Linked DNA regions of Homo sapiens: region 1 is linked to region 2. The links are contacts of gene promoters, found by promoter capture Hi-C in human tissues and cell types (Jung and others, 2019). All regions are on one chromosome and are shown on one strand. The core of a region is centred on a gene start or on the middle of the fragment in contact, and the rest is flanking DNA. Distances in the headings are between cores, read along the strand shown. Region 1 holds the start of KRTDAP (keratinocyte differentiation associated protein). Region 2 holds the start of HSPB6 (heat shock protein family B (small) member 6).

What was found. The method cuts DNA at HindIII sites, captures the fragments that hold promoters and counts their contacts. A contact is called where the count stands out against the background at its distance.
Region 1: a fragment that was not itself captured here is called in contact with the fragment with the promoter of HSPB6 in region 2 in 1 of the 25 tissues and cell types used here (pancreas).

What each region holds. Positions count from the first base shown.
Region 1 is chr19:35,488,032-35,492,032 of GRCh38, forward strand. KRTDAP (keratinocyte differentiation associated protein) reads right to left here and starts at 2,433. Exons shown (of 6, transcript NM_207392.3): 1 at 2,325-2,433; 2 at 771-809; 3 at 631-672; 4 at 410-454. The coding sequence starts at 2,411. The HindIII fragment of the contact is 6,388 bases long and covers 1-4,001 here.
Region 2 is chr19:35,754,564-35,758,477 of GRCh38, forward strand. HSPB6 (heat shock protein family B (small) member 6) reads right to left here and starts at 2,466. Exons shown (of 3, transcript NM_144617.3): 1 at 2,248-2,466; 2 at 1,209-1,331; 3 at 3-1,120. The coding sequence starts at 2,445. The coding sequence ends at 959. PROSER3 (proline and serine rich 3) reads left to right here and starts at 3,613. Exons shown (of 11, transcript NM_001367856.1): 1 at 3,613-3,663. The coding sequence starts at 3,653. RefSeq lists enhancers at 2,718-3,289, 3,618-3,857, 3,898-3,914. The HindIII fragment of the contact is 17,144 bases long and covers 1-3,914 here.

The DNA of each region.
Region 1 (4,001 bases), core at 899-3,398, 270 kb before region 2:
GGGAGCTGAAGGCGTTCGCATGAGGCCATGTGAGAAGTCAGTGCAGAGTCAGGAGACGCGGGCCCCAGCTCTGTCGCTGACTTTGCCTTCTAAGTGCGGGTGGGCCTCAGTTTTTCCATAGAGGATGAGGGGATTCAAATAAAATCTTGACCGATTAGCCTCTTCCTCTTCTGCAATTGTCCTTGGGGCCCTGCTCCTCCACCACCATCTTAGGAAAACACGGGTAGCCAGGACTGGCGCCGGGGGAAGCTTTCTTCCGTTGACAGCCCATTGGGCAGCATCCAGGCAGGACAGTCACTCCCTCCCAGAGATCAGGAACCAACCCATACATTTAAAGCCAAAATGTGTGGCCACTACCCTGGGATGACTGCAGACAACCGAGGAGGGCAAGGGGCGCCGGAGCACTCACCTCAAAGAGGGCGTGCCAGTTCAGGAACTCATCAGCCTTAAACGCCTGAGGAGGAAGAGAGACAGCAGAAGCAGGTCAGCTCCAGGGGAGGCCAGAGCTTAGCCCCCAGCCCTCTGGAGAAGGTGAAGGAACCGTGGCAGCTTTGCAAGCTCTCTACCAAGGCGTTTATCCCCTCTGTGATGAGGGTATTCGTGGGGGTAGCACCAGAGAAGCGTACTCACAGATCGCAATTTGTCGATGTTCAGGAACGGGGTGTTAAAGGCCTAGGCAGAAACGCAGGGTGTTAGGAAAGTTGCTAAGAAGCAAAAAGAGAGAGAGGACAGACTCGTGGCTGGAGGGCCGGGGAAAACAGACGGCTTACCTCGGGTCGTGACGCATAATTCTCAATGGTGCTTTCTTCCTGGAAAAGGAGAGGGAGAAAAGGCGGCAGGGGGTCACGTGATGCCAGGGCCCTTGCCCACATCCCTGTCTGCCAGCTCTGCCTTCATCCACAGCCCAGTCCCCGAAAGAACGCAACCCATTCCCCACCATGGTCTCCGTTCCAGTCGCGCACATGGTTGGCGGATGTGCAGGGTGAGGAGGGGGAATTGGAGAATGGTACATGTAAGCAGTGTCACCATGGGCAGCAGGCAGAAAGCCTGGAGCCGAGCATTCCTCTCCGGAAAAGCTAGCTAGTGCTGTCCTGCAGTTGACTTAAGTCTAAGAGGTGGGGTGTTCTGGAGACACCCACGCTCAGTCCGTATAGCTGGATGGGAAAGATTTGCGAGCAGGTGGGAGCCCAGCTGCTGAGGTGACCCGCCTGCCTCTCACTGATCGAGGTTGCTTTGCTTTGTGGATTTATTGCCACCACTGTTGGAGGTTCCATAATCCCCCTCCATGGGGACCCCACCCCAGGCCTCAGTGTGTCCCATCGTGTCTTCCCCATGACAGAGCCCAACACGGAGCCCGCAGGCTGGATCCAGATGCTTAGATCTCATAAAAATTTGGTCATTTGTTTTTTGGTTTGAATTAGACATTTTGAATTAGTAAGAATTCATAAATTCATCCAGATTTCTAGTTTCCCCTGAAAAATGTAAAACTCTAGGCACATCTTCCCAATCCATGGCGTCAGGTGGGGTGAAAGCTGCCCTTTCAGACTGGGAAAGTTGGCCCCATTTCACCTCAGGCCCTGACAGCCCCCCCAGCTCAGTGACACCACTGGCTTGGTCCTTAGCAGCTGAGCCTGTGCCCCTGTCTTAGACTTTTAAATCCGGAATAGGCATCAGGATTCCTCTCTGGCTGAGGACTGGATGGTAAAGATTCTCACTGTGGCCTATGCTCCAGAGACAGCAGGGAGCCACCCGTCACCTGGGCACCACTCCCAGGGGCACAAATGAAGCAAAGAGGAGCTAAGCAGGGGTGTCTCCAGAACACCCCAGCCCCACTCCTCTTTGAGTTAAGTCAGCTGCAGGCAGAACTAGCTAGTTTTTTGCTTTGCTTCACCCTCTCCACCTGCTGCCCATGTGGATGCAGGCCTGGGTTTGGAGCTGCTCTGCCTCACATTGCCGTTCTCCAGTTCCCCCTCTTCCCCTGCACGTCCCCAGGCATGTGTGCAGCTGGAACGGAATGGGTGAACACTCTTGAGAGCCCATGGTGGAGATAGTCTGAACCCAGACCACCCACTCAGTCCCAAGGTTCAGTACACGAGCCTCCCCAACACACTTCACCATCCCTTCCAGAAAGAGGAGCATCTCTGTCCCAAATGTCTCCCCAGGGATGCTCTGTTCCCTCCTCCCTTCCTCAGAGCCCCAGTTTCTTCAGCCCCCATCAGAATCCAAAACTAAGAGCCACTTATCCAGGAATGGACAGGAGGTAGAGAGATGGAGGGGTAGGTGGGTAACACGTATAAGAATAAAAATGCAGGTGACGTGCTCACCTCAGGACCACCCAGGGTGGCTCCCTGGGCAGAGTGGAGCACCAGGAGGGAGAGGAGCACCACGGCAGGAAGGACCGGGATCTTCATGGCGTCAAGTTTGGGGTGCTCTGAGGCGGGGCCTCAGTGCTTGCTCTTTATATTGCCAAGGAGGCAGATGAGCACAGAAATGGGGTCCCCACCCCACTGACTCACCCCCAGATCTTGTCGCCCACCCCCGGGGCTCTGGGAGGGGGAGGCATGGACTGTTCCTCATTTGCCTCGGATTTCTCAATTCGCATTCTGCCCCAGGCACGTGGAAGGTAACACTGCAATGGGTCTCTTCATGCAGATGGGGCTGGGACAGAGACAGGTTGGACCTGTCCCTCCAAGGGATTGGCAGTGGTACCCAAGCAACCTCTCCTTTTGTCTTTGTCTCTTTTCGTTATATCCCTCATTCCTCTCTTAGAATTCAGGCTTTTTCTTTTCTTTTCTTTTCTTTTTTTTTGACAGGCTCTCACTCGTTGCCCAGACTGGAGTGCAGTGGTGTGATCACAGCTCACTGCAGCCTTGACCTCCCAGGCTCAAGCAATCCTCCCACCTCAGTCTCCCTAGTAGCTGGGACTAGAGGCACGCATCACCTCACCTAGCTAACTTTTTTATTTTCTTGTAGAGATGTTGCAGCTTTTTTTTTTTTTAATTTTCTCGTAGAGATGAAAATGTCTCGCCATGTTGCCCAAGCTGGCCTCAAACTCCTGGACTCAAGGGGTCCGCCTGCCTTGACCTCCCAAAGGACTATAGGTGTGAGCCTGCGCTCCATGCTCATTCAGGCCTTTTCTTCCACCCTACCAAAATCTATGTAAACTCTTTAGCTTGGCATTGAAGGTGGTCCATGCTCTGAACTCAACCCACCTTTATAACTTCTTCCTTTACTAGCTTTGTACATACCTCACATTCTGGCCAAATTAGACCCCTTACCAACTATATCCTTCTTTTTCCCTCTTCAAAGCATCCGGCCATGCTGTTCCTTATTCCTAACATGGCCTTCTCTCATCTCCAGTTCTCAGAACCCAACACTCATCTTGGATGAAGCTTCCCAGATTTTTCCTGCAATGCCCAGTCCTTCTCTCCACACCTTTCCTTTCACAGAATTCCCATATTCATTCGTTTGTATGTCTCTGGCATTGTATCTAAGTAAGTCATGTTCTCGCCTTGTTTCCCTTTTAGAGTATCAAGTTCCTTGAGGTCAGGAGCTGTATCTTGATCAGCTTTACATCCCCCTAGAACCATGGCTCACACAGAACCCAGGTAGAGTCAGCATTGGTCAGATATGATACGTTAGACTTAGTATTCAGGCATCCTTCAGCCACAGTGTACATTTTCCTTTCATGGGGCTGAACCTTTCCATTTTCCAACTGCCCGTCTTTTACTCTTGGGTCTTCAGAGAAATGACTGTCTTGAGCTAAGATGACAAGGAACAGGGAACAAAAAACAGCTCTTAGGGTGCCCAGTTGGAGATGGGATCCAGGTACCCTGAACCTGGAGTGCCCACTCCATGTCATTGCCCTAACCCACCTTGCCCCACCCCCAGTTTGGAAGTTGGATCACCTCACTGTGACACAATGTCCTAGTCAAGCAGCCTTCTCCACAGTGAGGTTCAGGTGGCCAAACCGGCTCCTGCTGTAACAGGGAGGGGCTGGG
Region 2 (3,914 bases), core at 1,216-3,715:
AGTTGGCAGAGCTCTAGCACATTTATTGGGAGAGTAAGCCTGGGAAAGACTAAGGGAGTGGTGGCAGGGAGAAAGGCTGTGGGGAATCAGAGCGGGTGCTCAGTTGGGTCTTGAAGGAGAAGAGGAGGAGGGTGGGAGGTGGGTTGCCGAGGATATCTGGTTGAAGACTTGGGGGTCAAGACAAAGGGACTTAGGGGGATGGGGTCTGGTTAGAGTTGGGGAGGGGGCCTAGGACATCCGTGCAGAGTCTGGGGAGGTTGGGGTGGGAGAGTCTGTACAGTTTGGTGTTGGGTGTTCTAGTTGGCCTGGTGTCCAAGAGTTGGGGCAGTCGAAAAAGGGTTCCAGAGTCTGGTGTGGCTGGCTGGGGTTTCACGGCAGAAAATGGGCTGGAGGGGGCAGTTGTAGACTGTCTGGTTGCAGGGGAAGGATCGGGTCTTGGGAACCAGGCCTGGATGGTCTGGAGTGGGAGGTCTGTGCAGTCCAGGACGTTTGGGGGGTGGGGGGATTGTGCCTGACTGGCCTGGGGTTGGGGGAGGGCTGTCTACACCATAATTTGGTGTCAAAATAGGGAAGGGATGGAAATGTAGTACCCGGATGTCTTTGTAGAGGACTCAGAAGGAAGTAGAGGAGGGGTCTTAAGTGGGGCTATATGCCAAGAAAGTGGGTCGGTGGGGCTGAGACTGTCGGCTGAGGGTTAGGGTAGTGCTGGTAGGGTCTGGAAGCCGGGGAGTTGTCGGTGTGGGGTCGGAAAGCTGGAGGGGGTGTGAGAGCGAGGGTGTCAGTGGAAGGGTCTATGTTATCAAGGCAGTGTCCAGGATGGAGGTCAGGGCAGAATCCAGGAGTGGGTGAGAGGACAGTCCTTGGCGCACTCGGGACATCTGGCTGGGCGGAGTCAGATCGGCTTTAATAGAGGGAGCCTGAGGAGGCTCCCGGGGTGCGGGCGCGGCCCAGCCCCCTCCTACTTGGCTGCGGCTGGCGGTGGGGCCTGGGCCGACGCTGGTGCGGCCTGGATGGACAGGACGCCCTCGGGGGACAGCGCGGACGTCACGGCAGCCGGATCCACGCCAGGCGGCAGGCGGTAGCGACGGTGGAACTCGCGCGCGACGAATCCGTGCTCATCCTGGAGGGGAGGGAGGCTTGAGCGGCCCCGCCCCTCCGGCCCGGCGGCGAGCGTACCCGCTCCAGCCCCGCCCCACGCCGCGGCTCACCGGGCGCTCCTCGTGGCGCGCGTGCACCTCCACGTGTTCGCCCACCACCTTGACAGCAATTTCCTCCGGCGAGAAGTGCTTCACGTCTAGCAGCACCGAAAAGTGGCCGGGGTCCGTCGGCACCTGAGCGCAGCGGGCGCGGGCGGGACTGTCATTGGGCTGGGCCAGGCTCCAGGACCCACCCAGGGAGACCCCACCCCCGTCGGTTCCGTGCCGCGGCTCACTCTGGCCTCCGGAGTTGAGCAGTCAGCTCTCCTACTGGGAGTCACCCAGGACCTCTTCACCCTGAACAACAGGGATACGCCCTCCCCCTGTAATATCTGGGATTGCCCTCTCCCCCGCAGTGATGAGGCTCCCTTCCCCTGCAAGGTCAGGAACCTCTGCCCTCCCCCGGTGTCAGCGAATCCGAAGTCATCGTGCCCCCCAGGGCACTGATTCCCCAGCTCCCTCCTCAGAGCCCCGGGTCCCTTCTCCGCCAGCCCCGCCAAACTCGCCAAGATGCCCCTTTCCCCGTCTCCAGGGTCCTCTGCCTACTCTCCCACTCGAGTCACGGGACCTCGGCAGCTACTGGTAGCCTTCCCCCACTTCAGAGTGGCCGGGAACCCTTCCTCAAGTCGCAGGGCCCTCTCCCCTCCTCTTCTGGAGATATCGGGCCACCGCACACAGTCTCTCAACTCTTCCCCGAGACTAAGAACATTCCTTCCCCTCAGGAGTCACTGCCCGCCTCCTTTTCCCCAGATTTCCCGGATCACCAGCCTCCTTCAGAGTAAGCAAGACTCCCCTTAGAGTGACCCAGGCCTTCCATTCTCTGGAGAGCTGAGAGCCCCCCACCCCGCCCCCCACCTAAGAGCGACGGGGACCTCCCACCCGCTGCAGTGTGCGGGCCTCAGATTCCCATTGACTCCGGAAGCCCTTCGGAGCTGCGGACTCTCCACCCCGCCCAAGGCCAACGAACATTCTCTCACATGTTCCCACCCCAGGCTGCCCCAGACCCCTGGCAATGGAAGTGGTCGAGTTCACCCCTCCCCAGGCCTGGCACCTGGGCGACGGGCAGCGCCACGCTGGGTGCGCGCAGGTAGTAGGGGGCGAGCGTGGTGGGGCAGAGCGCAGCCAGCTCGGCCTCCAGCAGCCCCTCGCCGAAGCGCTGGTCAAAGAGGCGTCCGGGCGCCGAAAGTCCGGGCAACGGGGCCGAGGCGCGGCGCAGCCAAGACGGCTGCACAGGCACAGGGATCTCCATCCTGCTCCTCCGCGTTGCAGTGCCCCTGCGTGCGCAGCCGCTCATTTATAGTGCGCCCTGTGCCGGCCCCTCGGAGGGCTGCCCAGGGACACTGGGACCGTGGCCAGACCCGGCCATTAGGAGAGCCTTATTTAGAAACCCAAACAATGACTTGGCCATTTATTAAGCGCCTGCTGGATGCCTGGCAAATGCTGTCAAGAAGGTGACATGAAGATTCCCCAATTTCCAGAAGAGGAAACTAAGGCTGAGGAGGGGGAGCCTTGCGGGTGTGGGGAGCACAGCGTGGTGATTGGGGCCCAGGACCCAAGAGGCCCACGGAAGAGTTTCCAGTCCCTTTAATCCACTGCCTCCCCCCTGGCAGCTCTGAGGATGACGCAGATGGAGGTCTTTAGGAGCAGATTCCTGGAGAATGCGGTAGCCCCGCCAGGATGTCAGGAGGACATAGAACAGGCCCTCCCTACCCTTATCCTCAGCCAGACCTTGGGCCCAGTCCCCCGGCAGGCCGGGCCTAATTCTGTGCCTCTGACTCAGCCTCTGGTGCGCAGAGGCCAGGGGGCGCGAGCATGAACAGTTCAGGCTGGCCCCCCGGGGGCCGCGCGCTGGGGCTGGAAATAGCTCATTTTGATCCCGCTACCTCGGCCAGGAGCCCAGACCTGGCAACTGATGCAACCAGCTGCTCCTGCAGCAAGAAAGAAGTTAGATGACCGTTGGGACGGACTGATTGGCCCAACTGATGGAGGAATAGCGGTTAGAGAGAGGGCAGAGCGCGCCCCCCCCCCAACCCGCCCCACTGCCCCTGCAACAGAAAGAATGGTAGTTAGACCGGGGTCGGGACAGGACTTCTGCAGCAAGAAGGCGCTTAAAAAGCGGGACTTTTAAGCGAGGGTACTTTAGATCACCTCCTAACCGCAAGCCCAGCCTCAGATCCTTCCCATTGGTGCACGGTCTTGCCAATTACTGCTACACTCGGCAGGTTCTCCAATCAAACACGCCCTGTCGGGCAGGCAGTCGTCCCAGCCAATCCTGAAACACCTCCCTCCGGGTACTTCTGTTTCCTCTCTTTCATTGGTCGCCTTGGAGGCCGCTCGCCTCCGGCGCGGGCACAGAGAGGGGCGGGGCTGATAGGGCGTTGCTAAGCGACGGAGATGCGCGCGGGGCCTGTTGGGTGAAGGAGCAGAGCGGCCGGAAGCGCGGAGGGAGCCGCGGGATGGACCGCAGGTGAGGCCGATCGCTCTTCCAGGGACTACAGGAGGCTGGGGAGGACCAACGGCGAGAGCAGCACAGCCTAGGACGGGCTGGATACGGTCTGGAGTCGCTAGGGCTCCACCGCACTGGAACTACAATTCCCAACATGCTCCACAGCCGTTGGCCTCTCCAGCCGTAGCCGTTAGCATCCCGGGGGTCCCCTAAGAGTCTTATGTTCCTCTCTGAGTGGGCCCCAAGGAATTATTGCCTCTAAAGGTGTCCAA